Regions from separate parts of the Homo sapiens genome. Here all the other regions are linked to region 4. The links are contacts of gene promoters, found by promoter capture Hi-C in blood cells and fetal thymus (Javierre and others, 2016). All regions are on one chromosome and are shown on one strand. Each heading gives the region's core, a stretch centred on a gene start or on the middle of the fragment in contact. The rest is flanking DNA. Distances are from core to core; before and after follow the strand shown. Region 1 overlaps KLF12 (KLF transcription factor 12). Region 2 overlaps KLF12 (KLF transcription factor 12). Region 3 has its middle 48 kb from the start of LINC00402. Region 4 holds the start of KLF12 (KLF transcription factor 12).

What was found. Contacts are between HindIII fragments. The CHiCAGO score rates a contact against its expected background, and 5 or more counts as called.
Region 1: a fragment that was not itself captured here is called in contact with the fragment with the promoter of KLF12 in region 4 in 1 of 17 cell types (non-activated CD4 T cells); the score reaches 5.0 in non-activated CD4 T cells.
Region 2: a fragment that was not itself captured here is called in contact with the fragment with the promoter of KLF12 in region 4 in 1 of 17 cell types (total CD8 T cells); the score reaches 5.3 in total CD8 T cells.
Region 3: a fragment that was not itself captured here is called in contact with the fragment with the promoter of KLF12 in region 4 in 2 of 17 cell types (naive CD8 T cells and total CD8 T cells); the score reaches 5.4 in naive CD8 T cells.

What each region holds. Positions count from the first base shown.
Region 1 is chr13:73,917,319-73,920,533 of GRCh38, reverse strand. All of the region lies in intron 3 of KLF12 (KLF transcription factor 12), which reads left to right. Among named protein-coding and RNA genes, the nearest start is that of KLF12, 220 kb to the left of the region's middle. The HindIII fragment of the contact is 1,898 bases long and covers 650-2,547 here.
Region 2 is chr13:73,979,405-73,982,839 of GRCh38, reverse strand. All of the region lies in intron 2 of KLF12 (KLF transcription factor 12), which reads left to right. Among named protein-coding and RNA genes, the nearest start is that of KLF12, 150 kb to the left of the region's middle. The HindIII fragment of the contact is 1,193 bases long and covers 1,492-2,684 here.
Region 3 is chr13:74,278,164-74,281,453 of GRCh38, reverse strand. It overlaps a transcript of KLF12 not described here. Among named protein-coding and RNA genes, the nearest start is that of LINC00402, 48 kb to the right of the region's middle. The HindIII fragment of the contact is 8,951 bases long and covers 1-3,290 here.
Region 4 is chr13:74,132,864-74,135,822 of GRCh38, reverse strand. It overlaps KLF12 (KLF transcription factor 12), which reads left to right and starts at 1,419. Exons shown (of 8, transcript NM_001400136.1): 1 at 1,419-1,851. RefSeq lists a silencer at 1-1,672 and enhancers at 2,682-2,731, 2,762-2,941. The HindIII fragment of the contact is 3,671 bases long and covers 40-2,959 here.

The sequences.
Region 1 (3,215 bases), core at 349-2,848, 220 kb after region 4:
CAGATTTGGAAAATAGAGAAAGGGGATTTTGAAAGTTTGTATGTTACAATCACATTTTAGTTTTTAAATTTTGGAGAAAGACTTGACTAAGCAGTTAAATCATTTTTTAAATACTGGGCTGGTATTTTCTTGAGCAAGACCTTGTACCTGGCCCATAAGATGACTTATCTCCACTTAGCTTACATACATTAAAAAAAAATGTATGAAGACACAACCAAGCTTCACACACATAGGCATATATGTACATAGTTATACATATGTGTATGTTTATGCAGATATAAACTTATATACACACAATACAAATATTTATGTGTAATATTTGTGCATATTCATGTAATTTATACATGAAGTATGTTTATACTTAAATTAATTTGCATGCACAAGCACCAGTTACATCTCATAGTATTGGCACTGCTGTGCAGTATTGTTTAGAACAGGCTTTTCAAGCTAGTTTGCATCTTTCTGAATTTGAAGGAGAAAAGATGCTAACAGTAGAGCACCCGAACGGAGAGGGAGTGGATGTCCCGACAGCAAATTCTCTCAGTGGAATGCGGGGTAACTAATGCTGCTGGCCGGACTTCCTTTCTATAAGTTGAGAAAATTCAGGGGAGAAAAATTTATAATAAAGAAATAATAGTAGCAATAAGCTTCGATATTTCTCAGTTAAGGGTTCAGAATCTAAGGATATAATCTCCAAGTGGGTTGCAGGGCAACCCTGATGTACTAGAACACCTCACATGAGGAATGAACATGTTGCAAATCCTTATGAAGTTATGTTGCTTTTTGTAATATATTGATTACAATATCCAGATTTCTGGATGCATTCAAATGAAATTAGAGGATTGATTCACAACAATATGGCGTGCAATGTTAATGATATAGTTGGGAATTGGAGACGAGTGAAATGCAACAATAAACAGCATTATTTACCCGTTAGGGCAAACTGTACAGTGATGTAGCCAATTTTAATTTGGACTTAATTGTTGAGGGAATTTAGACCTTTTTTTAAAAAAAATTACTGTGGATTCATTTTGTTTTCTATCTATTCTAGATTTAGGATTTAGAGAAAGACAGTGTTCTTTCCTGTATCAAGATCAGCAGCAGGATTAATGGAGAAAATCCAGGTTGTCTCTGTGCAGTCTAGCAGCATCATAAAAGGCAGTTGTTTTGGATTAGTTACTGTTAGGTTTTGTTATAGGAGTCAGAACTCCTCTGTCATGGGGTTAGCAAATTTTCTAGGGCATTGATTCAACTTATGGATAACCATTCTAGGAATTTTCATGGTAAATCCTGGGTGACACTTTAGGAGCTCCCTTGTTAGAATTCTTGAAGGAACAGCTGAACTAAATCAATGAATTTTCTGTGAACTTCAAGATTTCCTAAAAATAATCTTTAAGTATCTGGGGGCCTCTGTGGATGTGGACAGTGCTCCTGGGTAGTTACAAGTTCTCCCATTTGTTCCCAGAAGCTCAGGAGCAGATGTGCTCTTTGAGTTAGTACCAACAGTTTGATTCCAGGGTACCCGTTTAGCTTGTGGCATTTGGCAGGGATTCTCCAGAATCAGACTGGTTTTCAGAGTAGTCAAACTAACTCAATTCAGAGGTAATGACATGTTTCAGGTCTTCAGAACTTTGGCAGCACAACTCAAAACAGGAATTAAGAGTAAACCGAGCAACATTAAAGAGTCTAATAGCAGCACGGTTTAGAGTTCATCAGTTCAAACCTCACAATAGCAGTTAGGGTTCTCTTAACACTTCTGGGGTTCTGGCAGGAGAAATCCAGTGTCTAGCCAAACTCAAGATCAGGTGGTAAGAAATAAGTCCTTGTTGGATAATTCTGTTACTGGCATCCTTTCTTATTTTCTAGTTTTGATTGTTAAGTAGCTCTCTAAATGTTGTCTTTGTATTGGGTAAAGAGCTTGAGTCTCAATGAGTTTGGGTTATATCTAGCTCACATCACAGAGTCTGAAATTCTTGGAGTTTATTTTTTATCAAGTATAAAAATCGGCCTAAAATAGTTCTGTGTAAAAAAAATATCTTGTATAGTACTGGGGGATGAGGTGAGAAATGTGCCTTAAGTTAGTAGGCATTTATGTAGTCCATCTACATCATGGACTGGAGGATTGAATTTTCTAGTAGCAATTTAAAAGAGAGAGCAGTAGACATAGTTGTAGACATTTCAGTGGTGGAACTTCAAGGTAGAAATATTGCCATGGAAACAAAGATTTGAGTAGGAGTAAGAAGAGGAGTTACAAAAGGAGGAATATTTGGGGAAAAAAAGAAAAAGTATGTTTTAAGTTTTACTTATAATTGTGTTTGCCAAGTCTGCATTCCCTTTTGAGCTGGTTCCTTGGTTCTTTTCACTTAGTTTTGTGAGTGTGGGCAGGAAAATACATCTCTCTCTCTCTCTCTGTATACATAGATATGTGTGTGTGTATATGGTGTGTGTGTGTGTAGATGTTGGTGTATATATTTGTTTGTATATATGTGTACGTGTGTATATAACCAGACTAAGCATTTAAAGACTACCCCTTAGCTAGACTAAGCTTTTTAACTAGATTAAGCATTTAATGACCTAAAGGTCAGGAATTTTTTTTTTTTCATTTCTCACTGTGTCTTCACAGTAGAAAAGCCCAACAAATATTGTTTGTTTAGAATTTTTTACTTAGTTTGATTTTTAAAATGCCTTCTGAATACCTATTATGTACAAGACATTGGCCTAGATGCTGTGGGGTCACCAAATACATAATCTGTAATCTCCAATACAAAGAGTTTACACTCAAAGCAGGATACTTGTAGCAGGAATAAAAATATTAGCTAGTGTTTGTTTATTGCCTGTTTGCCAGATTTAGTATTTCATGTATTTAATTCTTCTGACAAACTTATGAGGTTAACTATTACTATCTTTCTCTTCCTTGAAGAAACTGAGTCTTAAGAATGATCTGCCAGTCAGGGTGTTAACTACAAATAAATGGTAGAGTCCAACTTGGTACATAGTATAAACTAAAAGCTGGGCTCTTAAATATACTTCTATGTTGCCATCATATATGTATGTCATAAGCAGTATGGGCGGGTACAAAAACATAGGTATTTAAAAATAATAGATTTCTAAGCATAGGGTGATTATATCTGATTTACAAGGTGTAGAAGGGCTCCAAGGTGGTGACCACTGATCTAGGCATTGGAAAGGTTAGTGTAAATATGAGAGGAATCACT
Region 2 (3,435 bases), core at 839-3,338, 150 kb after region 4:
GATAGAGTTTTCCAGTATGTGGTAGATGAGGGAAAGGGTCTGGTTTACAGGACTTAACTATGAGAAAAATGGCAAGAGAGGGATTTTCCTAAGCAGTTACTCTCCATGGCTAGGCTGATATCTTGGTAAAAATGCTCTGAATGTACTGCTTAGGCTATTGCTAAATATAGTAACAAATATGAAGAGTGTTTTTTTCCTATACCAAGTGTATTTATGATTATAAATCTACACATTTGTGATAACCCAACAATTTTATAATAAGGCATCTAGCAACAAGATTTCTTTTTTATTTTTTAATGGAAGATATCCTTTCTGACAGTTGTCTTTGCCTAAGTGTACATTTACCTTTCAATGATGGAAGATATCCTTTCTGACAGTTGTCTTTGCCTAAGTGTACGTTTACCTTTCAATAATGGAAGATATCCTTTCTGACAATTGTCTTTGCCTAAGTGTACATTTACCTTTCAATGCATATGGGACCAAGAAAATCCCCAAAATGGAACCTCCTCCTCCTCCTTCATTTCTTTTAGTTTGTTGAGTGTTCTGAGGATTTTCTTAACCACTTTTCCTTGTGCTTTTTGTATTGCAAATTAAGTTTCTATTCATGCCTTAAAAATAAAATAACTGCTTCTGTTGTGTGATGAGCATATCACCTTAATAAAGCAAATCCTAGTCAATGAAGTTAATGTTTTTCAAAATCAGACTTTGAAAGTTCTTGTTTAACCAATTAAAAGAATTAATCACTCTAGTCAACAAAGCACAGGGGAGATAATTTATTAAGTATTTGAAAGATAAAAAAGAATATATATGTATTGACTGTGTAAGTTGTAAGCCATGATAACAGAGAAACCTAACTTAAAAAAGTAGATTGTTTCCAGTATTTTTTTTCAAGACCCCTTTTAGTCCCTTTCTTAGCCTGTCTGGGCTGCTGTAACAAAATACCTTAGACTGAGTAATTTATAAATACTAGAAATGTATTGCTCAGAGTTTGGAAGCTGGGAAGTCCGAGATGAACTCTCCAGCAGATTCAGTGTCTGGCCAGGGGTTACTCTTAGCTGCATTTTCTCTTGGCAGAAGGGACAAGGCAGCTTCGTAAATCACCTCCTAAAAGGCACCGCCTCTTATTACCACTGCAGTGGAGATTAGGATTCAACACGAATTTTGGAGGGACACATTCAGACAGTAGCAGTCTCACACATAACCATTTATCCTGAATTTTGTATTATAATTTCCTTTCTTTTCATCATATATAAGTACATGTTCAAACTATGTATCATTTACTTTTGTTTGTTTTGAGACATATGAATAGTACCATACTGTTTATATTTTTATGATCTGCTTTTTTTACTTGACATTGTTGTTTTTGATATTCATTCACATTGATGCGTATAGGTAAGATTATTTATTTCCACAAATGAATAGAATTCTATTTTATGACTACACCATAATTTATCCATTTTTCAGCAATGGACATTCCTATTCTTTTAAGCTTTTTGCTATCTTAAACCTGCTATGAAGAGTCGTTTAAATGTGTCCTGGTACAAATATAGAAGATTTTCTCTGGAATATATACCCAGAAGTAGAATTGCTGGATTGTAGAGAAATTTTCAACTCTCCTGGATAATGTCCAATTGTTTTCCCATGTAGTTGCAATAGTTTTTTGTTTGTTTGTTTGTTTGTTTCTGAGACAGGGTCTTTGTCTCCCAGGCTGGAGTGCAGTGACACAAACACAGCTCACTGTAGCCTCAACTGCCCTGGCTCAAGCAATCCTCCTGCCTCCATATCCCAAGTAGCTGGGACTTCAGGCAGGCATCACCACGCCCGGCTAATTTTTGTATTTTTTATAGAGACAAGGTTTTGCCACGTTGCCCAGGCTGGTTTCGAACTTCTGGCCTCAAGTGATCCTCCTGTCTTGGCCTCTCAGAGTGCTGGAATTACAGGTGTGAGCCACTGTGCCCAGCCTGCAACAGTTCCTAAATAGTACTGTTTAATAGTCCCATTTTACCACGTCCGTACTAACTGTGGGTGTCTGCTGACATTTGAAGATTTTTCAATCTGGTGTGCGTTAAATAGTGTCTCACTGTAGTTTTAATTGCATTTTGTTATTAATGGTTCATATGTTTATTGATTATTTGGACTTCAGCTTCTTTGGAATCATTTTTGTCTTTTGACCATTTTTCTATTGAATGGTCATCTTTTTTGGTAGGGATGATGGGGTAGATATTCAGGATTGATTAAATGTATAGAAATTATTTTCTCTGAGATGGTAGATTTTTACTTTTTATTTTGATTTAATATTTAGTTTTGTTGAATTTATAAATATGTTTAATGCTTTTTCTATTCAACTTCATCATGATAATTTTATATCCCACTGGGATATGTTTAGTAATATTTTATATAGGATATTTGCATCTATTTTCATAAGTGAGATTGGCTGTAACTTTTAAAAAAATATTCTGACTGGGTTTTGGTAGCTATGTTAGAATCTTTTTCTATCTTTTGGAAGAATGTGCATAAACAATTATCTACTCTTTAAGGATTTGGTAGAACCCATTTATCTGGGATGAGTGGCTTTTTGTGGGTAAAATTTGAACTTAAAATTCAATTTTTAATGGTAATAAGACCAGGTTTTCAGTTTCTTCTTGAGTCAGATTTGATAAATTGTATTTGGTTTATTGTAAGCTTTCAAATGCATTAGGGTAAGATTGTACTAGTTTGCTAGGGCTGCATAACACAGTACCACAGATTTCATGACTTAAACAACCGAAATTTATTTTCTCACATTTCTGAGGGCTAGAAGTCCAAGATAAGGTCTCAGCAGGGTGGATTTTTTTCTGAGGCCCCCTCTCTGGCTTGGAAATGGCTGTCTTCACCCTGTGCCTTCACGTGGTCTTTTTTTTCTGTGTGTCTTTGTGTCCTAATCTCCTCTTCTTATAAGAACACCAGCCATTGAAGTAGGATCTACCCATATGACCTTATTTTATCATAATTACCTCTTCTGAAGTCCCTATCTCTAAATAGAGTCTCAATATTCTGAGGCTCTACAGGTTAGGACTTCAACATATGAATTTCTGAAGGGACAAAATTCAGCCCATAACAAAAATGTTCACAGTAGTCTATTATATGTTTAACCTCGCTGTATCTGTACTTATGTCTCCCCTTGTGCTTTATTTAGTTTATTTCATAATGATTGATTGCTTTTACATTATTTTTTCATTTGGTAAATATTACCAAGGATTTGACAATTTCATAGTCTTTCCAAAGCATTTCCTTTTGTTTATTTCCATTGTATCTTTCTTCTCTATTTTGTTAGCTTTGTCTTTTTCTTAAAATTTCTGAGTTTATTCTCATATTCTTTGTCTTCTAAATTTAGTTGCTGAGAAAATTAATCTTTAATTAAAAAATTTCTCTCCAGACAGCATTAGCTGTATTCCA
Region 3 (3,290 bases), core at 267-2,766, 150 kb before region 4:
CCATGCCATATCTAATTTTTAAATGCCTTGCATCCACACTTATCACACCAAAATACTTTAACATTCTTTAAGTCTTAATTCTTATCTCCTCAAGGTTTTGCGGGAAAGAGGGACAGGAATAACCTTTCACCTTTGTCTCTGATGACAGTCAGTGCAAAACTACTTCATCATCCCAGCAGGGAAGGCCAATACATTCCCAGCAAGTATAATTTCTACCAGAACAACTCATGAAATGTGGTAAGAAATAGTGTGTGGGTGTCTTAAGATAATACTTTTTAAAAAAAAATAGAGAAGAGAGTTTTAAAAATCATTCTTTTTAAAATGAGATCTAAAAGGGGGAAGATGAAAGAAAAATGTGCAGAAAAATAAAATACAACAAAGTATAGATATTATATACAAGACCATGGGAGTTATAAGTCTAGGAGAAGCATAAGAACCCATTAGTAATGGATTACAAATAGTTTTCACCCCACTGTAAAGTAGTTGTGGGAGAGAGTATCAGACATATCAAAAGTAGTGGCTATCTGATTGTGGTTCCAGATAAGGTTAGTATATTCTTGAGTTTGTTTTCCTCCCTTTTTCTGTGCCAGTTTTTATGGCACAGTCCTTGGCAAAAAAAAAAAAAAAAGAAAAAAGAAAAAAAAGATGAGTATGGTGTAGTTTCTACATACAGTTCGTCATCTGTTAGGGAAAAGGGTAGATAGAAAAATTCACGAAACAGTATTTGCTATGATTTTCACAGGGTGGTGGAAAACCAAAGGTTCTTTCACTGCTCTGACTCCATCCACAAGGGTACACCACGAGGGTACTTTCTACCACCAACTTGCAGAAAACTAGAGAATGTGACCAGAGATCATGTTTTGATCCCAAGATGGGTTTCCCCATTGGGTCTCTTTCATTAGCCTCCCTGACTACTGACAAAGTTGCACAGTTTTCACCACCATGAGAAACAATCTGTGTATAGATGTGTAAATTTCCAGTGTGTATTTTTATATGGCTTAAGGGTAAATCAGATAATAAGGCAAGCTCACTTCCCTGACCACACCTTTACTCAGAAGTCTAAGGAACAGACTGTTTAACCTGTTTCCAGTGGTTTCAGGGACTTCTGTATTGGGTGTAGCAAGGACAAAACTGGTCATTACACTCTACCCAAAAAGATCATTAGACCATATCAGGTTGCAGTCATGCTTTTGGAAACTTGGACATGTTTCTTAACTTCTCTGAGCAACTGTGTCCTAATGTGTAAAGGAGATATGAGACTGGCTTGCAGCATTGTTGTGAGGATTGGTAATTATTTATGTGACAATAGAATTTAATAGATGATAACAATTATTAATATGCTCACCAACCACTCAGGATAAATTTTAAAAGGAAGGTTTGTAAGCCCATTTGCAACCCTAAGGATATGCTACAGAGGCTGCTAACAAGAAATATTACTAAAATCTCTTCCTTGTCCCATTGTCCAGACCAAAGTTATTCAACACTTCTGGTCCTCTGTGCTTAAGATAACATTCTTGTGCATCCCTCTGCTCTTAGAGACTTTCACCTTCTCTCATAAATTTGCCCAAGACTTAGATCCCCTTTAACCATGAGAATAAGTCAAAACTTTTTAACATGGAACTTGAGGGTCCTTAAAATCTCAAATCAAACTAGTTTAACAACACTTGACAATGTCCATTATGTACTCCGTGCTCTTTTTCTATTGAGTCCACTATGGGACAACCACCTGATGTGTTTTCCTGTACCACATGTTTTTTGTTCAAGCTAAACTCCAAAACTGACATGTGTTTTACCATTTTGTTCATTGGTTACAGAACTGATGTTCCCATTACTGTGCTTAACATGCTGATTCAGTTCAACACTTTACTGTGCTGAATTAAGTTTAGCCCTTAATATATTCCTCAAAGAGCACTTATGACTAAAAAAAAAAAAAATGAACAAAATTTCTGTTTATTTCAAACCATTGTGAGAGATACTAAATTGTTGTGCAGAAAAAAAAAATTTTTCTTACCCACCAAAAGTTAAACCACACTTTGCCAATATGCATGGTTAGTTTTGGGGAGTTACATAACATTTCTTCCATTTAGGGTGGAAGTCATAGAAGTCAGAATGTAAAATACTTTACATTCAGGATAGAAGGCCAAGAGTCTAAGTACAAAGATCAGAGCCAAATGCATTACTTTTAGAAAGAGCTGTCTAGCATCAACTAAATTAAAGTGCACAGTGGGGCTTCCTACGTCCCATTATGGTTTAATATCCCAGTGCTGTGATGGAAGAGACTCTCCCCCAGGGGATTTTAAGCACAGGTATGTCCAAGAGGGAAAGAATGAGTCTAGAACCTGTTTGGGCAGAGTAATATGACCCACTAGTACATGGATGTAGTCAAAGGATACGGGCTGTCTCCAGTTTCACTAGAGTTGATACTGCCAGAGCTTCTTGGGTAACCATGGGAAAAGATGTATTACCTCTTCCTGGCAAAAGTAGCCAAAGTCATCTCCCCACCATGGAAAGTGGTGGGGTATCTTCTTATTGAATAAGAGGAGCCAGAGAATCAACATTCCTTAACAGTTCCTTAATTAGTGTTCTTAACAGTGACACTATAACTGGATATTAACATAAGATCTTCTCTCTGTTTTGGCTGAGGCCTGAAACTAATAGATGCTACATTTCAAAATGAGATTTGAAAAATATCCCATGGCAGAAAATTAATTTTGCAGCTTCTGAGATAGTAGCCCTCCTTTAAAAAGTTAGGAAAAGGTGAGAAAAGGCAGCGGGTGGAGATTGAGGAGGATTTTTGGAGACAGCTATTGGAGCGCAATGTGGTCCTCACTCTCTGCCTCAAGTCAAAAGAGGGGGTTTTTAAGGAACAACCACGAGGATTTAATATGTGTCCTTGGCTGTTTGGAGGACACTGTGGACTGGTGCCTTGATTCTAGCTTGGAAAACCTAAAATGCAAAACCTAGGCTGACAGATTCCCTTGTGGAAGAAGGAAAGAGAGTTGTTGCTGAATTGGGATCAGTATGTAGACAAAGAATTTAGATGGAGATAAGGAGAGGGCCATGTCGGTGATGAACACATGACAGTTTCCACTGGGCCAGATATGGCCTAATAAGTGAAAAAGCTGTTGTTTCTGGTCATCTTACATCCTGATCCAGAAAACTACCTGAAGTAGGAATAGACCTCACCAGAGATAAACTGGCAGCTGTCACCAGATTCCTAGGGCTGAGGTAGCAGGAAATAATCAGCCCAAATAGAAATAGAAATCATCAGAAATTGGTTGGGGCAAGGG
Region 4 (2,959 bases), core at 170-2,669:
CTCTTCCCACCCCACTCCACGCCACAGTACAGCAAAGCTTTCTCTCTGCACACAAACTTCCCCTTCCCGGCCTTCCCACAGCCCTGGCGATTTCCCACGCGGGGCGGGCCGGGCCGGGGGCGCGGGGCAGGGGAATACTGTCGTGCCCGGAGCGCCGCGCTCACCTAGGATGGTGAGGAGGCGGGCCCACAGCCTCCCGCCTCCGTCCGCCGCGCGCCCCGCCCGCCCGGCCGCTTCCGCCCCGTCTGCTCCCCGCCCCCGCCGACCCTCCGGCTCGGCGCTGACCCCGCGCCCTCCGAGCCGCCGCGGGAACTGCAGGGCCGCCCGGCCGCCTCCTCCCTCTCCCGCCCCACAATCCCGCGGATCCGCTCCCCGGGGCGCGGAGGCGGGGAGGGAGGGGCTGCCGGGGAGAGCGTCAAGGACTCGGCTCCGGGCCGTCCGCTTCTTGGGGCTCCGCTCTGGGCGTGGGGCAGTGGAGCTGGACTCCCTTCCCCGCCGCCCCCGGGCCCCGCGGGGGTCTGCAGATCCCGCTTCCTCTGCCCCAGTCCTCCAAGTTTGCGTGCTTTCCCACAGAACTGGCGCAGGCAGGGGCCCCTTCGCTGGGGTGGCGAGGCCAGGCGCGCATCTCCGCCTCGCCCCCATTCATCCCGCCAAGGTGAAGCGCAGGGAAAAGGGGCGCCCCCGCTTCGCCCGCAACGTGCGTCGCTCCGGAACCCAAACAATGACTCCCCTGCCTGCCGCGCCCGGCCCTCCGCCCGCCCCACCGGCGCGCGGGGGGCACCGCCCGCGGGGCTGCCCCTGCCTGACCCCATTGTTGCCCGGCGCGGGCGATGCCCGGCGCCCAGGGGCGGTCCCCGCGAGCTGCCCCACAGTCCCGGCCGGCTCCGCCCACACCTTTCCAAGTTCGCTGGCGGGCGAGCCGCGGGGACGACCCGGGCGACAGCCCCCTCCCTCCACTGCGCGCCCCCACCCGGGCGGGTGCGGCGAGGGGTGGGGGCCCAAGCGGGCTGCACGCTTTTTGGGTCCCCGAATTCTCCTAAGCCTGTCTGGCGCGCTCTGACACAAAAGAGGAGACTTTCTCGCGGCTCGGCGCGAGTCCTTGCCCAGCGAGTTGCTCTCCAGGGGTCCCTCCCGCCGCAAGCCCCCGCGGGCCCCCTCGGCCGACGACTCCCCGAGCTCCCAGGGCCATGTGTGGGTTATTTGGGGTGCCGCAGCAAAGTGGTGCAGGTGAAAGGGAAGCGCTGCCGAGGCCCGGGGCCGGAGGGCGGGGGCAGGGGTGGGGCGGGGTGGGGCGGGGTGGAGGCGCCGCGGACCCAGCCCGGCGGTCCGGGCGGGGAGGCGAGGGCCGGGCAGTGGGTGTTGCCTTCTACCTCTGCGAGCGGGGAGGGGTTAGTTTCCCACAGGGGATTTCAACCATCACACTCAGAGCCCGCCTCCTAATCCTCGGGCGGAGCGGCTCGGGGGCCCCATTTTATGGCAATAAAGCGACTTAGCGCCTGCTGAGCGAGCCCCTCCCCGCCGCCGCCCCCGCCCTCGGCCCCACCCCGGGGCTCGCCGGCAGCGGCGGGGCTTTGTTTCTGGGGAGGAGGACCCGGAGCTCTTTTGTTTGGGGGTTTCTTGTTTTCGGCCCCCCCCCTCACAGCACCCCACCCCACCCCACCCCAAGCGCCTCTCCGGTTTCCTGAGCTGCGGGCTGCGAGGGAGGAGAAGCGGCGTCCTGCAACCCCCTCGGCTGGGCCCCGGGGTAATTCGATGCGGGCCTGGCGAGGCTCCCCACACTAGACCGGGGCTCGCAACTCGGCAGCCTCCACCCACCGGCCCACCCTACATTTAGCGCATCATGTGATCCGGGTAAGTCATTTGCAAGTACAACAGTTCCCCGGGTTGCCCCCCATTCATTTCCTGAGAACTGCAGAGAGCCGCTGAGAGGCTCTGCGTGTGCGTGTGCGCGGGTGACGCCGTGTGTGTGCGAGTGTGTGTGTGTGTGTGCGCGCGCGCGTGTGAGAGAGAGAAAGGGAGAGAGAGAGGGGGACTCTGTGTGAGGGAAAGAAAACAATTTCTCCTGCTCTGCAGCTTCTGTTCAGGTCTGTGCCGATTCCGTTTCTTATCAAAATAAACAACCCCCTCCTCTTTTTTTTTTTTTTTTGCCATCCCAAATCAGACCGTATTCTCTTAACGTGTTTTATTTTCCTTCTGTCATCTGCTCAAGTTAAATCATTTTGGTTGGTCTGTGTTCTTAAAGGGGGAAAGTGCTGGGAAGCGGGAGGGGGCCGGGGAAGGGCGATGCTGTTGCAAAGCAAGTAGCGTCGGTCGGATTCGTGGAGAAGAAAGAAGGAGGTTTCTTCCCCACCTCCCCTAATTTTTTTTTTCCAGAAGAAGTTATCAAGTAACGTGAATTAAGCAAGTGTTTTTCTACCCCTAGTGGAATTGTTGGTTGCAGTGTTTGCCTGACAGTTGCCAAGGATGTGAAATAAAACCCCAGGGCTGAACTTGGGGGGGAGGGGGGGCTCGTGGAAGTAGTTGGCCCCCCGGCCTCGAGCGGGGTGGATGAATAGCTCCGCACCGGGACCGTGTGGGCTGTGTGTGCGCGCTGGAGAGAGTGGAGGGGAAGGGGTTAAGGCGGAGATGACACTGCTGGCATGAATAGTGCTCCTGGTGCTACATTCATTATTGTCTCTGGTCGTAATGATGTGTAACTGTCACTTGCTACAGTGCCTGGTCCATGCAAGTAGCCAGGGGCTGGCCGGTGGCTGTTATTTTCAATTACGGGGGACCTGGCCGGAGTTGACAAGGGGCAACTTTGTACGTCCACCCGGGCCGGGAACCCGCAGAGCCGGCCTGGGAGCCACTTCTTGCCTCAGAAGCTCACTCTGAGGGTTCAGACTTGACCTCCGCGACATTAGTTGGTGTTCACGTTAGATGCTCCCCTACGGGGAGAATCAGTCCTGCTTTTGTTGGG